3 separate regions of the Homo sapiens genome follow, and all the other regions are linked to region 3. The links are contacts of gene promoters, found by promoter capture Hi-C in blood cells and fetal thymus (Javierre and others, 2016). All regions are on one chromosome and are shown on one strand. Each heading gives the region's core, a stretch centred on a gene start or on the middle of the fragment in contact. The rest is flanking DNA. Distances are from core to core; before and after follow the strand shown. Region 1 has its middle 8.7 kb from the start of OPTN. Region 2 has its middle 45 kb from the start of CCDC3. Region 3 holds the start of CAMK1D (calcium/calmodulin dependent protein kinase ID).

Region 1 (4,712 bases), core at 784-3,283, 740 kb after region 3:
GACAAATTCCCTCCTCAAATTCTCCAGGTTCTGATTCAGATCCAAAAACTACACAGCGGACCATATAAAATACATCTTAGAGCTTACAGATAGTGGCTAACTCTTTAGAAAGAGTCGTCTTAAAGTAGTAACTTTATTTGTTTAACACTTATTTATGAATATTTATAAATGAACACTTATGAATATTTGTAAGTGAACACTTATTTATGAATATTTGTAAGTGAACATTTCTTTATGTTTAACACTTATTATGAATTCTTTATATGAATCATATAAAGAATGCAAGTAAACAACTTAGTACTATTGTTATATTCTTTGAAGTTGCTGGGACTATTGTCCCATCACTTGATTAGAGTCTTCAATTCTCAAACTTGCTTTTCTGTCCCCATTCCTCGGGGTACTCTGGCCCCGGACACCTTCAATGCCCTCTCCTTCCTGATACTTTTCCTCACTTGACTTCGGGGACATTGCTCTCTCCTAGTTTCGCTTTCTCTTATCTGGATGCTCCCTCTTCTCTCCTCTCCAACTTTTTATTTTCTTTCAGCACCCCCCCTTAAATTGGAGGAATTCTCTAGAATTCAGCCATTTTTTTAAATTTAAATTTTAATTTTTTTATTTCCAAAGGTTATTGGGGAGCAGGTGGTGTTTGGTTACAGGGATAAGTTTTTTACTGGTGGTTTGTGAGATTTTGGTGCTCCCATCACCCGAGCAGTGGACACTGCACCCAATTTGTAGCCTTTTATCCCCCACCCCCCTCCCACCCTTTCTCCGTGAGTTCCCAAAGTCCATTGTGTCATTCTTACGCCATTGCATCCTCACTGCTGTGAGTGAGAACATACGATGTTTGGTTTTCCATGCCTGAGTTACTTCACTTAGAATAATAGCCTCCAATCTCATCCAGGTTGCTGCAAATACCATTAATTCATTCCTTTTTATGGCTGAGTAGTATTCCGTTAGATATATATATATATATATATATATATATATATATATATATATATCACCGTTTCTTTCTTTTTTTTTTTTTTTTGTGTCAGAGTCTCATTCTGTCACCAGGCTGGAGTGCGGTGGTGTGATCTCAGCTCACTGCAATCTCCACCACCTAGGTTCAAGCGAGTCCCCTGCCTCAGCCTCCCAAGTAGCTGGGACTACAGGTGCGTGCCACCATGCCTAGCTAATTTATTTTGTATTTTAGGAGAGACAAGGTTTCACCATGTTGGCCAGATTGTCTTGATCTCCTGACCTCGTTATCCACCTGCCTTGGCCTCCCAAAGTGCTAGGATTACAGGTTTGAGCCACCGCACCTGGCCATACCATTTCTTTATCCACTCATTGATTGATGGGCATTTGGGTTGGTTCCACATTTTTGCAATTGCAAATTGTGCTAGAATTCAGCCCTTTTAGAGGAGGTCTCTGAGAAGGACTAAGTCCATATTTCCAAGCTTAATCTCTATCCTGAGGTTCAGGCCCATTTTTCCAAATAGGTGTGGACCTCTTCATTCACCTATCCCACAAGTAATGCAAGTTACTCAGAACTAATCTCCTTCCCCCAGGGCAGCTGCCTGTCCTGGGTTTCTCATCTGCTAGGGTCTAAATGTTTGTGTCCTCCCAAAATCCATAGATTGAAATCCTCACCGGCAGGTGAGGGTATTAGGAGGTGTTATTAGTCAGGGTTCTCTAGAGGGACAGAAGTAAAAGGACAGATGCATATATTGAAGGGAGTTTATTAAGGAGAATTGACTCACACGATCACAGGGTGAAGTCCCATGACAGGCTGTCTGGAAGCTGAGGAGCAAGGAAGCCAGTAGTGGCTCAGTCCAAGTCCCAAAGCCTCAAAAGTAGGGAAGCTGACAGTGCAGCCTTCAGTCTGTGGCCAAAAGCCTGAGAGCCCCCAGCAAACCACTGCAGTAAGTCCTAGAGTCCAAGGGCCGAAGAACTTGGAGTCTGATGTTCAAGGGCAGGAAGCATCCAGCACAGGAGAAAGATGAAGTCTGGAAGACTCAGCAAGTCTGCCCTTCCACCTTCTTCTGCCTGCTTTTTCTAGCCTCACTGGCAACCAACTGGATGGTGCCCACCCAGATTGAGGGTGGGCCTGCCTCTCCCAGTCCACTGAAGCAAATCTTAATATCCTCTGGCAACCCACTCACAGACATACCCAGAAACAATATTTTGCATCCTTCAATCTGATCAAGTTGACACTCAATATTAGCCATCACAGGAGGTGAAGCCTTTTGGGGGGTGATTAGGTCATGAGAGGAGAGCCCTCACAAATGAGATTAGTGCCCTCATGAAAGAGACCCCAGAGAGCTGCATCAACCCTTCCACCACATGAGGACACTGCAAGATGATGTCTATGAACCAGGAGGCAGGCCCTCACCAGACACTGCCAGTGCCTTGATCTTGGACTTCCCAGCCTCCAGAACTGTGAGAAATCAATTTCTATTTATAAGCCACTCTGTTTATGGTATTTTGTTATAACAGCCAGGATGGACAAAAACACCATCTCAGCTAATACTGCTACCCTCCATTCAGTCGCCCAACGCAGAAATGTTCGCCTTCAACAACTCCCTTCATCTCCTCAGGTACATCTCATCATCCTAAAGTTCTCTCCCCTCCATCTGCATAAAAGCTTCCAAGCATAACCCCTTTTAAATAACAGAGTCAAATACATAACCTTTTTTTGTAGCCAAGATGGAAGTTCCCTAAGTGTCTGATTTCAAGCTTACTGAGAAAAGCCCAATCCAAAAAAAAAAAAAAAAAAAAATTCCTCCTTGCTGGCAGATCCTGAAATCCCTTTGGCAGACAAGGTTTTTATTGCAGAATTAGAAATAATCCTAAATGCCAGAGGCTCTGGAAAGATGCCACCTGAAATTGAAAGGACACCAAAGTGTCAATGTTGTGTCATACAGCCTTGCAGTGAAAAGGGCTGATGGTGGGAGGAGAGGGGAGGGTGGCAGATAAGAGCAAAGAAGAAAGAGTGCAGGGTGCAGATAGCTGCAGCAAAGGTGGTGGAGGCGGGCACACTGTGAACATACAAAGAAAGTTCGCTTGAGCCAACCAAGCCAGAATCAACTAAAATATACTTTTGTGCTGAAGGTGAATTAAACAATTCGTGAGTATGGGAACCAAGGTAGACAGGAAATCATTTTATAAAAAGATTCACAGAGACTCTTCTCTTGTTTCTATAATAAACAGAATGGAGCCACTTCCCAGAATTATAATAAGACACAGTGAATGGGAAAGTTCTAAATTTATGTAAGATCAGCTTTTGAAGTCTCTGAAATCGTTGCAATGGGAAATACTGCCTAAGTGCTTCCAAGTTCACTAACAGATCTTCCTCTAGGAGTTTTCACAGCCAACCCTTCAAAACTTGGCCACCTTTGCCATAATAGTCCATGAATATCCAATTGTCTCTGCAAGAAGTCTGTTATGACTGGGATTTCTTTCTGCCTCCCTTGGGTCAGATCAAATTAACTTGGTAAGAATTGCTTTCTGTAAAGCTAACTCACATTGGAGTAACCCCCGTGTGACCTAAGGCATCTTCTCCCCTGGCTCCCAGTAGATTCAGAAAAAGGAATGGATGAGGTCAGGAATAACACAGGGGTGACCAGTTGCAAAATTTAAAGATATAGCAGCTGGAGAAGTGAACCATAGGCCTTAGGAAAGAAAGAAGCAAAATGTTGCTGGCATCCAGCTGTGCAGATCTGATGAGACCAGCCGCCCAGAAATCTGTGTTACTGCTCCAGAAGACAATGCAATGTGCCTACAAATTTAATGACTGTCTCCTGGCCTATAACAGGGGAGCAGGAACTCTGCCCGCAAAGCCGAAAAGGGTCAAGGCAACCTGGTGAGAGAAATGTTGACTTTTCGTGGGTATAAAAGGCACAGACAATCTAGCTAAGGCAGGTGTATTGTGATCTAGTGGAAAGTCATGTATGAACCCCTCACCTTTTTTTTTTTTTTTTTTTTCAAAAACAAAGGAGTTACTGACTTTTCAAACCGCAAAATCATTTATGACAATTTAACCAGCTGTATTAGTCTGTTTTCATGCTGCTGATAAAGATATACCTGATACTGGGTGATTTATAAAGAAAAAGAGGTTTAATGGACTCACAGTTCCACGTGGCTGGGGAGGCCTCACAATCATAGCGGAAGGCGAAAAGCACATCTTACATGGCGGCAGGCAAGAGAGAGAATGAGAACCAAGTGAAAGGGGTTTCCCCTTATAAAACCATCACATCTCGTGAGACTTATTCACTACCATGAGAACAGTATGGAGGAAAACACCCCCATGATTCAATTATCTCCCACCAGGTCCCTCCCACAACACACGGGAATTATGGAAGCTACAATTCAAGATGAGATTTGGGTGGGGACACAGCCAAACCATATCACCAGCCAAGTATTAAGTCAACCTCTACAGAAGGAAGAGGCTTAAATTCAAATTAATTTGGCATCTACTAAAATTGTATACCAAATATAAGAAATGAAAAACAAATTCTAATTTTTTTCAAGCTGGAGAGAAGCTAAGAGGTTATCTATCTTAGCCCCTGACTTCCCTCACTGATGAAGAGGTCAAGGCCTAGGGGTGAGTTCTCAGGTAGGGCCGAGGTAGCCTGATACCCAGGTCTCTGTGTCCTCCCTCACTCCACCATGCACTTTTTCAGAGAAGTGAGACACCTTAGTTTGGAAAAAAAATAAGTGAGATGGAA
Region 2 (4,803 bases), core at 1,879-4,378, 700 kb after region 3:
TATTCGGTTCCATTGGTCTATGTGTTTGTTTTTGTACCAGTACTATGCAGCTTTATATTATAGTTTGAAGTCTAATAATGTGATGTCTCTGTTTTGGTTCCATATAAATTTTAGAGTAGCTTTTTTTTCTAATTTTGTGAAAAAAATGACATTGGCAGTTTAATAGAAATAGTGTTGAATCTGTAGATTGCTTTGGGCAGTATGGCCATTTAACATATCGAGTCTTCCAATTCATGAGCATTGGAAGTTTTTCCATTTGTTTGTGTCATCTATGATTTAAAAGGAAAGCTCTTACATGACTTCTAACAATGTTTCCCATGGAATCTAAATGCCATAGCAATTTCATATCAAACATAATTCAATTTAAACATACACGAACAAGCTCATCTTTAACAGGCAAAAAATTACTCCATTTACTGCTTAAACTTGTATTTCCATTCTACTTTCCCTACATTATATTATGTTAATGTGATATATTCAATGCCTGAAATTCTTTTATTGACCACTCATAATTATCTACGACAAAAGCATGCATATAAATTGAAATTAATTTTTAAAATTTTCTGTGACCATATGGCTCCAGGTATCAAAGAAATCTCTCTGGACTGAATTACCATTATAGGTAGTGTTAATATGCAATTTATCAAAATAACAAATATATTTTTAAGAAATTATTGGCTGGGCGCGGTGGCTCATGCCTGTAATCGCAGCACTTTGTGAGGTCAAGGCAGGCGGATCACAAGGGCACCATCCTGGCTAACAAAGTGAAACCCTGTCTCTACTAAAAATACAAAAAATAAGGCCACGCACCTGTAGACCCAGCTACTCAAGAGGCTGAGGCAGGAGAATCGCTTGAACCTGGGAGACAGGGGTTGCAGTCAGCCAAGATTGCACCACCGTACTCCAGCCTGGGCAACAGAGCAAGACTCTGCCTCAAAACAAACAAACAAACAAAATATATATACATAACATAAAAATTAGAATTTTATTGGGGAAACTATTCTTCATTCCACTTCTTACTAAAATAGGCAGGGTCCTCATCAACATTTTTCTCATTTTACAATTATTGTTGCTACTGCTACCGTAAGCACTATAAAACTTTTTTCATGTAAAGAAGTATATAAGCGGCCAGGAGCAGCAGCTCACGCCTGTAATCCCAGCACTTTGGGAGGCCGAGATGGGGGGATCATGAGGTCAAGAGTTCAAGACCAGCCAGGCCAAGTTGGTGAAACCCCATCTCTAGGAAAAATACAAAAATTAGCCGGGTGCGGTGGCATGCACCTGAAATCCCAGCTACTCAGGAAGGCTGAGGCAGGAGAAGCACTTGAACCCCAGGAGGCAGAGGTTGCAGTAAGCTGAGATCGTGCCACTGGACTCCAGCCTGGGTGACAGAGTGAGACTCCATCTCCAAAACAAAACAAAACAAAAAAAGAAGTACATAAGCTGGGCATGGTTGCTCATTCCTGTAATCCCAGCACCTTGGGAGGCCAAGGCAGGAGGATTGCTTCAGCCCAGGAGTTAGAGACCAGCTTGGGCAACATAGTGAGACCTCATCTCTACAACAAATAAAAACATTAGCTGGGCATGATGACTCACACCTGTAGTCCCAGTTGCTAGGGAGGCTGAGTTGGGAGCATCCCTTGAGCCCAGGAGTATGAGGCTGCAGTGAGCCGTGATCGCGTCACTTCATTCCAGCCTGGGCAACAGAGCAAGACCCTGTCTCAAAAAAAGAAAAAAAAAAAGGCCAGGTGCGGTGGCTCATGCCTGTAATCCCAGCACTTTGGGAGGCCGAGGTGGATCACCTGATGTCAGGAGTTCAAGACCAGCCTGGCCAATGTGGTGAAACCCCATCTCTACTAAAAATACAAAAAAAAATTAGCCAGGTGTGGTGGGGCATGCCTGTAATCCCAGCTACTCAGGAGGCTGAGGCAGGAGAATTGCTTGAACCTGGGAGGCGGAGGTTGCAGTAAGCTGAGACCGGGCCATTGCACTCCCGCCTGGGCAACAAGAGCGAAACTCCGTCTCAAAAAAAAAAAAAAAGAAGAAGAAGAAGAAGTAGACAAGAATGGAAGCAATTTTATCAAGCAGTATCAATTATTACTCAAGCTCCTTCAGATACAGTGATCTATCATCGAAAATATTTAATGATCTAATTCTCTGACAACTCAATTAGGTCTCCTCTCAAATTTCATGAAAGCAAAGAATTAGAAATCATCTGATCTGCAAAAAGATTTATTACTTAGTCAATAGAATCATTCACTTTCTAAAAAAAAAAAAAAAGAAGAAGCCAATCCAGCAATTTGTCTGGCAACCCAGATATCTGTTCACCCTGGGGCAATGCACCCTAGTAAGATGAGAGAGGGTGAGGGATGTTTTGCATTTATGAAGCAGCTGTTACGAAAGAGGAGACAGAACAGAGAGACTCCATTTAGCGGCAATGGCTCATCGCCATTCAGTTCTCACCAGAACAATTATAGGAAAGAACGCATGGAAATTGTGGACCCAGAATTTAAAAAGAACAAAAACCATGTACCTGTGTAGCCTTAGAAAGTCCTCTTGTGACCCTGAAGATGGGCATACCCAAATTTGAAGCCCATGGGTTTGAAAAGTCCCCATTAAACTGGTAGGTGAGTCTCCATGGAGCTGGTGACAGACCGGCAGCTGGAGCTTCCTTGACATCTCCGGGTGGCTCTCTCCAGCCTGGGCTTTGTGGATCACAGTGCCCTTTGAAATGTTAGGGATCCCCAGGAAAAAGGGATTCTCAGGACAAAAAGTTTGGGGAAAGCTTTCTATTCTTTCTGCCTCTTACAGATTCACAATAAAATCTGCATAGCAAAGACTAAAGAAACCTGCTTAATTTTGTGTAATGCAAAATTTCCCAAACTAACCTGGCTCTCCCCTCCCGCCTCCTTCTTTCACACAGAATGCCTGGGTACATATAAAGAGACTTCAGTAATCTGCTCCGGAGCCCAGTGTGGTCCTGGCAACTGCAAGCTGGATCTCCATCCGTGCCCTCCCTATGAGACCTGGGTGATTCCTGTTAGCCATGGGCCTCTCTAAAGCTCTCCAGAGGGACTAAGGCCTGAGATCGGTTTGTTTTCTTGTGTGAACCAAAAAGCATCTGAGACAGGTCTCAATCAACTTAGAAGTTTATTTTGCCAAGGTTAGGGACGCGCCGGAAGAAATAAACATGGAGTCCCAGAAACAGTCTGTGGTCTCTGCCTTTCTCCAAAGACGATTTTGAGGGCTTAAAGGGGGAAAGCAGGCTGGAGGGAAAGGAGGAAGGATATGGTCACATGACTGAATCCACACGTTGCAAGAGAAAAGGAGCAAGTAGGGGAATAGTCAATTATGTATGCACCTCACGCGCAATGTAAGGTGAATTGAGTAACTATCTGCGGGGATGTTTTGTATTTTATCCATAGCTATCTTAGGAACAAAAGAAAAGGTAGCTTCTTGCATGACTCTGCTTTAAGCTTAATTTTTTTTCTTTTGGCAGAGTGAATTGAGGTCCCAATTATTTTTTTTTAGACGGAGTCTCGCTCTGTTGCCAGACTGGAGTGCAGTGGCGCGATCTCAGCTCACTGCAGCCTCTGCCTCCCAGGTTCAAGCAATTCTCCTGCCTCAGCCTCCCTAGTAGCAGGGACTACAGGTGCGCACCACCACACCTGGCTAATTTTTTTGTATTTTTACTAGAGACGGGGTTTCACCATGTTGGCCAGGACAGTCTTGATTTCCTGACCTTGTGATCTGCCCACCTCGGCCTCCCAAAGTGCTGGGATTACAGGTGTGAGCCACTGCACCTGGCCAGGGTCCCAAGTTTTTATTCTCCTTTTACACTTGCACTTTACGGATTCTGTTACCTATTCAGAAAATGCTACTTTCCTATTGATGCCATTCACTTTTAGATGGAGACTCTCATATAATTGGGAGGTTTCTATGATATTCACTTTGGGCAACACCCACTGCAGACAGGAACTTGAAGGTGTTTCCTAAGTGTTACCTCCACAAGCAGATGAGTCAACTTGGCAGGTCGCTAGCTGTCCCTGTGGGTCCCCTGGTCATCAATAGTATGGTGCCAGCTGAGAAGGGATTAAAATTAGATGTAAAGTAAAAAATCCAAATATTTAAGAGTAAGGAGTGTGTGTAAGAGAGAGGGAGATTGTGTCTGAAAACATATGCCTGTCTTTCATCATACCTAGAGCCACGTGGTCTTTTTTTTAATCATCTGGCTTATATTTTCCATTTTTCATTGCACAACACCAAGAGTTGGCTACATAGTCATGATGAAGATGAGCATACAAATTCCAAGTGTCACAACTGGAGAGGGAGGCCTCCTAAGTTGTTCATGGGAATGAGGATCAGATCACCTGACTCGATACAGGCTTTGGGACATCTTAGGCATCTAATCTCTCTAATCCACTGAAGAGACACAATAACGAGCCCCAGCTATCCCTTCCCTTTTCATCAAGAAGACTGCACATTAGAGATTAGTCAATATTCTATGCACAAATCATAAATATTTGGTGAATAAGGAGATCAGTTAGATTCTCCATCCTTGATTGCAGCTCAAAATTCAAACAAATCAATCAGTACCTGCTGGGGGGAAAAAGCCTGTAGAGCACTTTTTTTTCTTGAAATACAAGAATCATGAAGGGAATAAATATTAACTTTATTCCCTTATTCAGAACAAGTGAATTGGATGGCGCCAATGGCAAACAACATGGATTCCTGGCTCTGCTTCAGCCAAAATGCATTTTGCTCTTTGGAACCCTCAGTTCCAACCTGTGACGCTGGAAAAGT
Region 3 (4,767 bases), core at 2,029-4,528:
GTGAGCTGAGATCACCGCACTCTACCGTGGCGACAGAGCAAGAATTTGTCTTAAAAAAAAAAAAAAGAAAATAAAGAAAAAAAAGAAGTATGCTTTTTCTTGAGGACCTCGTCCAGCTTAGAATAGCTTGATAATGCCAAATGAACATCATTACAGAAAGTCTGGAAAAGAAATAAAGCTCCCTACAGCAGTTCCACCAGTACAACAAATACCAAATAGCGGTCTTAACTCGATTTCATTTCTTTCTTTTTTTTTTTTTTTGAACAGAATATCACTCTGTTGACCAGGCTGGAGTGCAGTGGCATGATCTCGGCTCACTGCAACCTCTGCCTCCTGGGTTCAAGTGATTCTCCTGCCTCAGCCTCCTGAGTAGCTGGGATACAGGCGCACACCACCACGCCCGGCTAATTTTTGTAGTTTTAGCAGAGACAGGGTTTCACCATGTTGGCCGGGCTGGTCTCATACTCCTGATCTTAGGTGATCCGCCTGCCTCTGCCTCTTAAAGTGCTGGCATTTTACAGGCGTGAGCTGCCACGCCTGGCCTCAATTTCATTTCTTTATCCATTCGACACACATTTACAGATCAGTCAGTATGGGTAGGTTACCGTGTCAGGTGCTGGGAAACAGTGGCGAGAAAGTTAACAGGTGCCTTGCTCTCATGGAGCTTATAGCCTGGTAGGAAAAGTCACGGCCACAGGCCACGTGGAAGTTCTCATTTGCTTTCCCTTCATCTTTACTGTTCCTGTAAAATTGCCTTCTTTCTTTTTTTCTAATGGTTATTTTTATAGATTTAGGGGTACAAGTGCAGTTTTGTTACATGGATATATTGCGTAGTGGTGAGGTCTGGGCTTTTAGCTTAACCATCACCAGAATAGGGTACACCATGCCCATTAGTTAATTTCTCATCCCTTCCCCTACCCCACTCCAATGTCATTATTCCACACTCTCTGTCCACATATACACATTATTTAGCTCCCACTTCTTCTCCTTTTTTTTTTTTTGAGATGGAGTCTTGCTCTGTCGCCAGGCTGGAGTGCAATGGTGCAATCTTCGCTCACTGCAACCTCCTAGGTTACAGTGATTCTCCTGCCTCAGCCTCCTGAGTAGCTGGGATTACAGGCATGTGCCACCATGCCTGGCTAATTTTTATTTTTAATAGAGTTTCACCATGTTGGCCAGGCTGGTCTTGAACTCCTGACCTCAGGTGATCCACTGGCCTAGGCCTCCCAAAGTGCTGGGATTACAGGCGTGAGCCACCATGCCTAGCCTTAGCTCTCACTTCTAAGTGAGAACATGTGGTATTTGACTTTCTGTTTCTGAGTTATTTCACCTAAGATAATGGCCTTCAGTTCCAACTGCGTTGCTGCAAAAGACATGATTTCATTCTTTTTTATGGCCGGGTAGTAGAGAATCAGCACTTCTTCAGCTGTGGGGATAATAGCTGAGAATGAGAATTGTTTTCATGAGCTCTGGCGGCTGTTCCTGAGGCCAGGCAGCAAGGGCAACATAGCAGAGAACCAAATAGGAAAAGAGGAGAAGGAAACACAGTGGGAGGAAGGGAAGGAGAAAGAAAGGACAAGAAGATGCTGACTGTAGGCATGAGAAAGCGACAGTTGGGATCTTAGTTGACTTATGCCCTGGTTCCCACTGTTTGTATTATCTAACCTTTGGCACAAGTAAAATACATGATAGTTTTTCAAATGTTTCTTATTGAAGGGGATGCTGTTTGCCTTGAACTTTGGTAATGTGCCTCAAGTATAAGAGAGGTTCCTTAGTAATTCTTCTCACCCATCCGTGTTGGAAATTGGGTTTGTGGATTTATTCTACATCTAACCGGCAAGTAAATCCCCTCTTTGCTCTTCTCAGTTTGGAAAACCTTAAGCTAACCGTCTTTGAAAGATGGAAACTAGCATGGAGGTCCCAGGAATGGGGATGCCAGGGTGTCGTCTGACCTCTTTAGGGTCAGAGTAGGGGCTGAGGGAGAGCAGCTGGGCTGCCTCCACTTCAGCCAGAGTCAGAACTAGGCACAAGGTGCTGGATGAAGTTTCCTATTCAGGGAGCAGATTTTTTTTTTCCTTTTACAGTGAAATTGGAACAGTCCTGGGAAAATGGGACAGGTGTCCCCAGTCAAGAGACAGAGCTGTTTACCCAACTACGAGGAGAGGCCCTGAGGGAGGCGAAGTGTTGATACCAAGAAATCTAAAATTTTCCGATCAAGAGGTCGCCCCTGCAGGTTGGGGACCAGGGAACTGGAGCACGTGGGCTGCCCTCTGACAGGTGGACACCAGGAGTGGGGCGGGCAGGCCAAAGTACAGCTGGGAGATGGGAGTCCGGAGGGAATTCTCTGGGTTAGTTTTGGCAGTCCATAGGAAAGCAGGTGCCTGCCCCGCAACCCGGACACCCTACTAAGCCAGCCGCGGGTGGGCTCCTCCTTCGAGGGGACTGCGGGGCAGACGATCACTTCTTTCCACTGAGTCTCTGGGAGGAGACAGGGAGATGCCAGAAGGGGCCAAGCGTGAGCCAGGGCAACCAGGCCGGCCAGGCCCGCCGGCCGCTCCAGCCCAGCACCAGGGCGCCCGCGCGGCTGCCAAACACCCCCGGGAGTTTTGCTCGCAAAGGGACCACGAGGCAGCTGCTGGCGCGTCCTGCGCGTACCCGCCCAGAGGCTCCCCGGCTTGCTCCTCGCGGGTCTGTCCCGAAACTGACGTGAAACCGATTTGGTGCAATGCGAATGAGCTCCCGCCCGCCTCCGCCTCCATCCCAGCCGCCGCCGCCGCCCGTCGCCATAACAACCGGCCCCCACCCCCCCCACCCCACGCCTTGCCCCTCGGGTCCCCCGGGCCACAGGCCACAGCGCGGGAAGGCGCCCCGCCCTCGGCGCCCCGCATCCGGCCGCCGCGCACCCCCGCCCGCCCGGCGCTTCCGAGCCACGCAGAGGCGCCCCCTCCCGCCGGAGACGGGAAAGCCCCGGCGCCCCCAGACTGGGCTCCGTTTCCAGCTCCCGGAGGGGCTGGGGCTCTCCCGCGTGCGCCCCGCACCTGCCGGGGGCCCGTACCCGCCCTCGCCGGGGCTCCAGGGGGCACGACGGCCGTGGCCCGGCGCTCTTGGGAGGGGAGCGGGACATCCCCGAAGGCGGCGCGCTGGAGGCGGGGAGCGGCCGGGGCGCACGGAGAGGGCGGGGAGCCCGCGGGAGGGGGAGGAGGGGGAGGAGGGGGAGGAGGCGCGAGGTGGGGGGGAGCGCGGCGGGCGGCAGGGAGGGAGCGGGAGGGAGGCAAGAAAGTAGCAGAAAGTGAGGCTGGCAGGCGGCGGCAAAGGAGCCGGCGCGCGGCGGCGGCAGGAAGTCTGTGCCCGAGAACAGCAGAAATAAGAGCCAGGGAGGGACCGCGGCCGCGGCGGCGGCGGCGAGAGCGAAAGAGGAAACTGCAGAGGAGGAAGCTGCGCCGCAGCCCGAGCCGCCCGGCATCCCCGCCGCCTCTGCGCCCGCGCCGCGCCCCCGGCGCCCCCTCCCCAGCGCGCCCCCGGCCGCTCCTCCGCGCCGCGCTCGTCGGCCATGGCCCGGGAGAACGGCGAGAGCAGCTCCTCCTGGAAAAAGCAAGCTGAAGACATCAAGAAGATCTTCGAGTTCAAAGAGACCCTCGGAACGTAAGTGGGGACCGGGGAGGCGAGGGTGGAGGTGGCCGCGGCAGGGGCTGCACGGGCAGCTCCAGCTGCCGCCGCCGCCACTACCGCGGCAGAAACCCAGCCTGTCACCGCGTCCTCATTGTCCCGTTCTCGGCGCTGCGGAGCCCCCCCGAGCGCGCCCGACGCGTGGGCCTGCGACCCCCGGGTGGGCGCCGTTCCCGGGAGGGGGAGGGGGCAGCGCCGGGCTGTCAGGGAGCAGCCCACGCGGGCGCGCGACTTCCCACTTCTCCTGCCACCGCCGCCCTCTCCGCTGCCTTCTCCCCACGCGTGACTGTGGGCTGAGCATGGTGGGGATGGCTGTTTACCGGCTGTGTGCGTTTACTCGCCGTGTGCATGGGCGCACCGCGTTGGCGAGACGTGGTCACGAGAAGATCAGCCTCCAGTCGTTCCCATTTCTGTCCTTACATCATGTATTTCTATGGAATTGGCATCTGCACGTACGAGGTGTAGGCAAGACTTTGGGTGGCCACGCGAGGATGGAAGGGAAGGGCTTCGCAGTGCTCAGGGTCACACGTGGGCAGAGCCTCACCGGAGGGTCTGTGCATTTCACGCGGGCTCGGCCGCACGCGCCGGGGAGCGCGTCTCCAAGGGAGGGTCTGTGCGCGTCGCTGCGCGGGCGGTGCTCTCTCCGGGCTGCATCGAGTCCCATGCTGATGGCTGTGTCTCAAGAAAGCAGAAATAATCCGAAGTCGATGGCAGGAACGCTCCAAGCATGTGCTGCTCAGCTCAGCTGCTGTTCCCTTTCTGCCCAGGAGTTGGGTCTTGTTTGTTTTGTTTCGGAGCGGCTCAGAATAGGTGGGGAGGCTGATAGTGAAAGAGAATCAGGACCTGCCGAATGAGTCTGAAGTTCAAGTTATTTCCTTCCCTCACACAATCAGTATTTGCTCTGCATCAGTATCTGTCAGTGTGGATTCACGCACAGGTGTGCAGTCAGAAATGCCCATTTTGCAGGGGTTCATGGAGGTGTTGATTAGGCTGGGAAGAGAAAGGGGAGCTATTTCATGGGATAAATCAGTGCGTTGTTGGGTGCCCTTTCTTTCCTTCCTCCTTTTTTTCCGTGTGCTTGTTTTTGTGCTTGGTTTCTTT

What was found. Contacts are between HindIII fragments. The CHiCAGO score rates a contact against its expected background, and 5 or more counts as called.
Region 1: a fragment that was not itself captured here is called in contact with the fragment with the promoter of CAMK1D in region 3 in 1 of 17 cell types (erythroblasts); the score reaches 6.7 in erythroblasts.
Region 2: a contact is called between a fragment that was not itself captured here and the fragment with the promoter of CAMK1D in region 3, in 1 of 17 cell types (endothelial precursors). The highest score is 5.5, in endothelial precursors.

What each region holds. Positions count from the first base shown.
Region 1 is chr10:13,089,078-13,093,789 of GRCh38, forward strand. It overlaps a transcript of CCDC3 not described here. Among named protein-coding and RNA genes, the nearest start is that of OPTN, 8.7 kb to the right of the region's middle. The HindIII fragment of the contact is 1,187 bases long and covers 1,441-2,627 here.
Region 2 is chr10:13,044,683-13,049,485 of GRCh38, forward strand. It overlaps a transcript of CCDC3 not described here. Among named protein-coding and RNA genes, the nearest start is that of CCDC3, 45 kb to the left of the region's middle. The HindIII fragment of the contact is 691 bases long and covers 2,784-3,474 here.
Region 3 is chr10:12,346,269-12,351,035 of GRCh38, forward strand. It overlaps CAMK1D (calcium/calmodulin dependent protein kinase ID), which reads left to right and starts at 3,279. Exons shown (of 11, transcript NM_153498.4): 1 at 3,279-3,642. The coding sequence starts at 3,551. RefSeq lists silencers at 2,438-2,697, 2,738-3,297, 3,468-3,557 and enhancers at 3,594-4,093, 4,268-4,427. The HindIII fragment of the contact is 10,581 bases long and covers 1-4,767 here.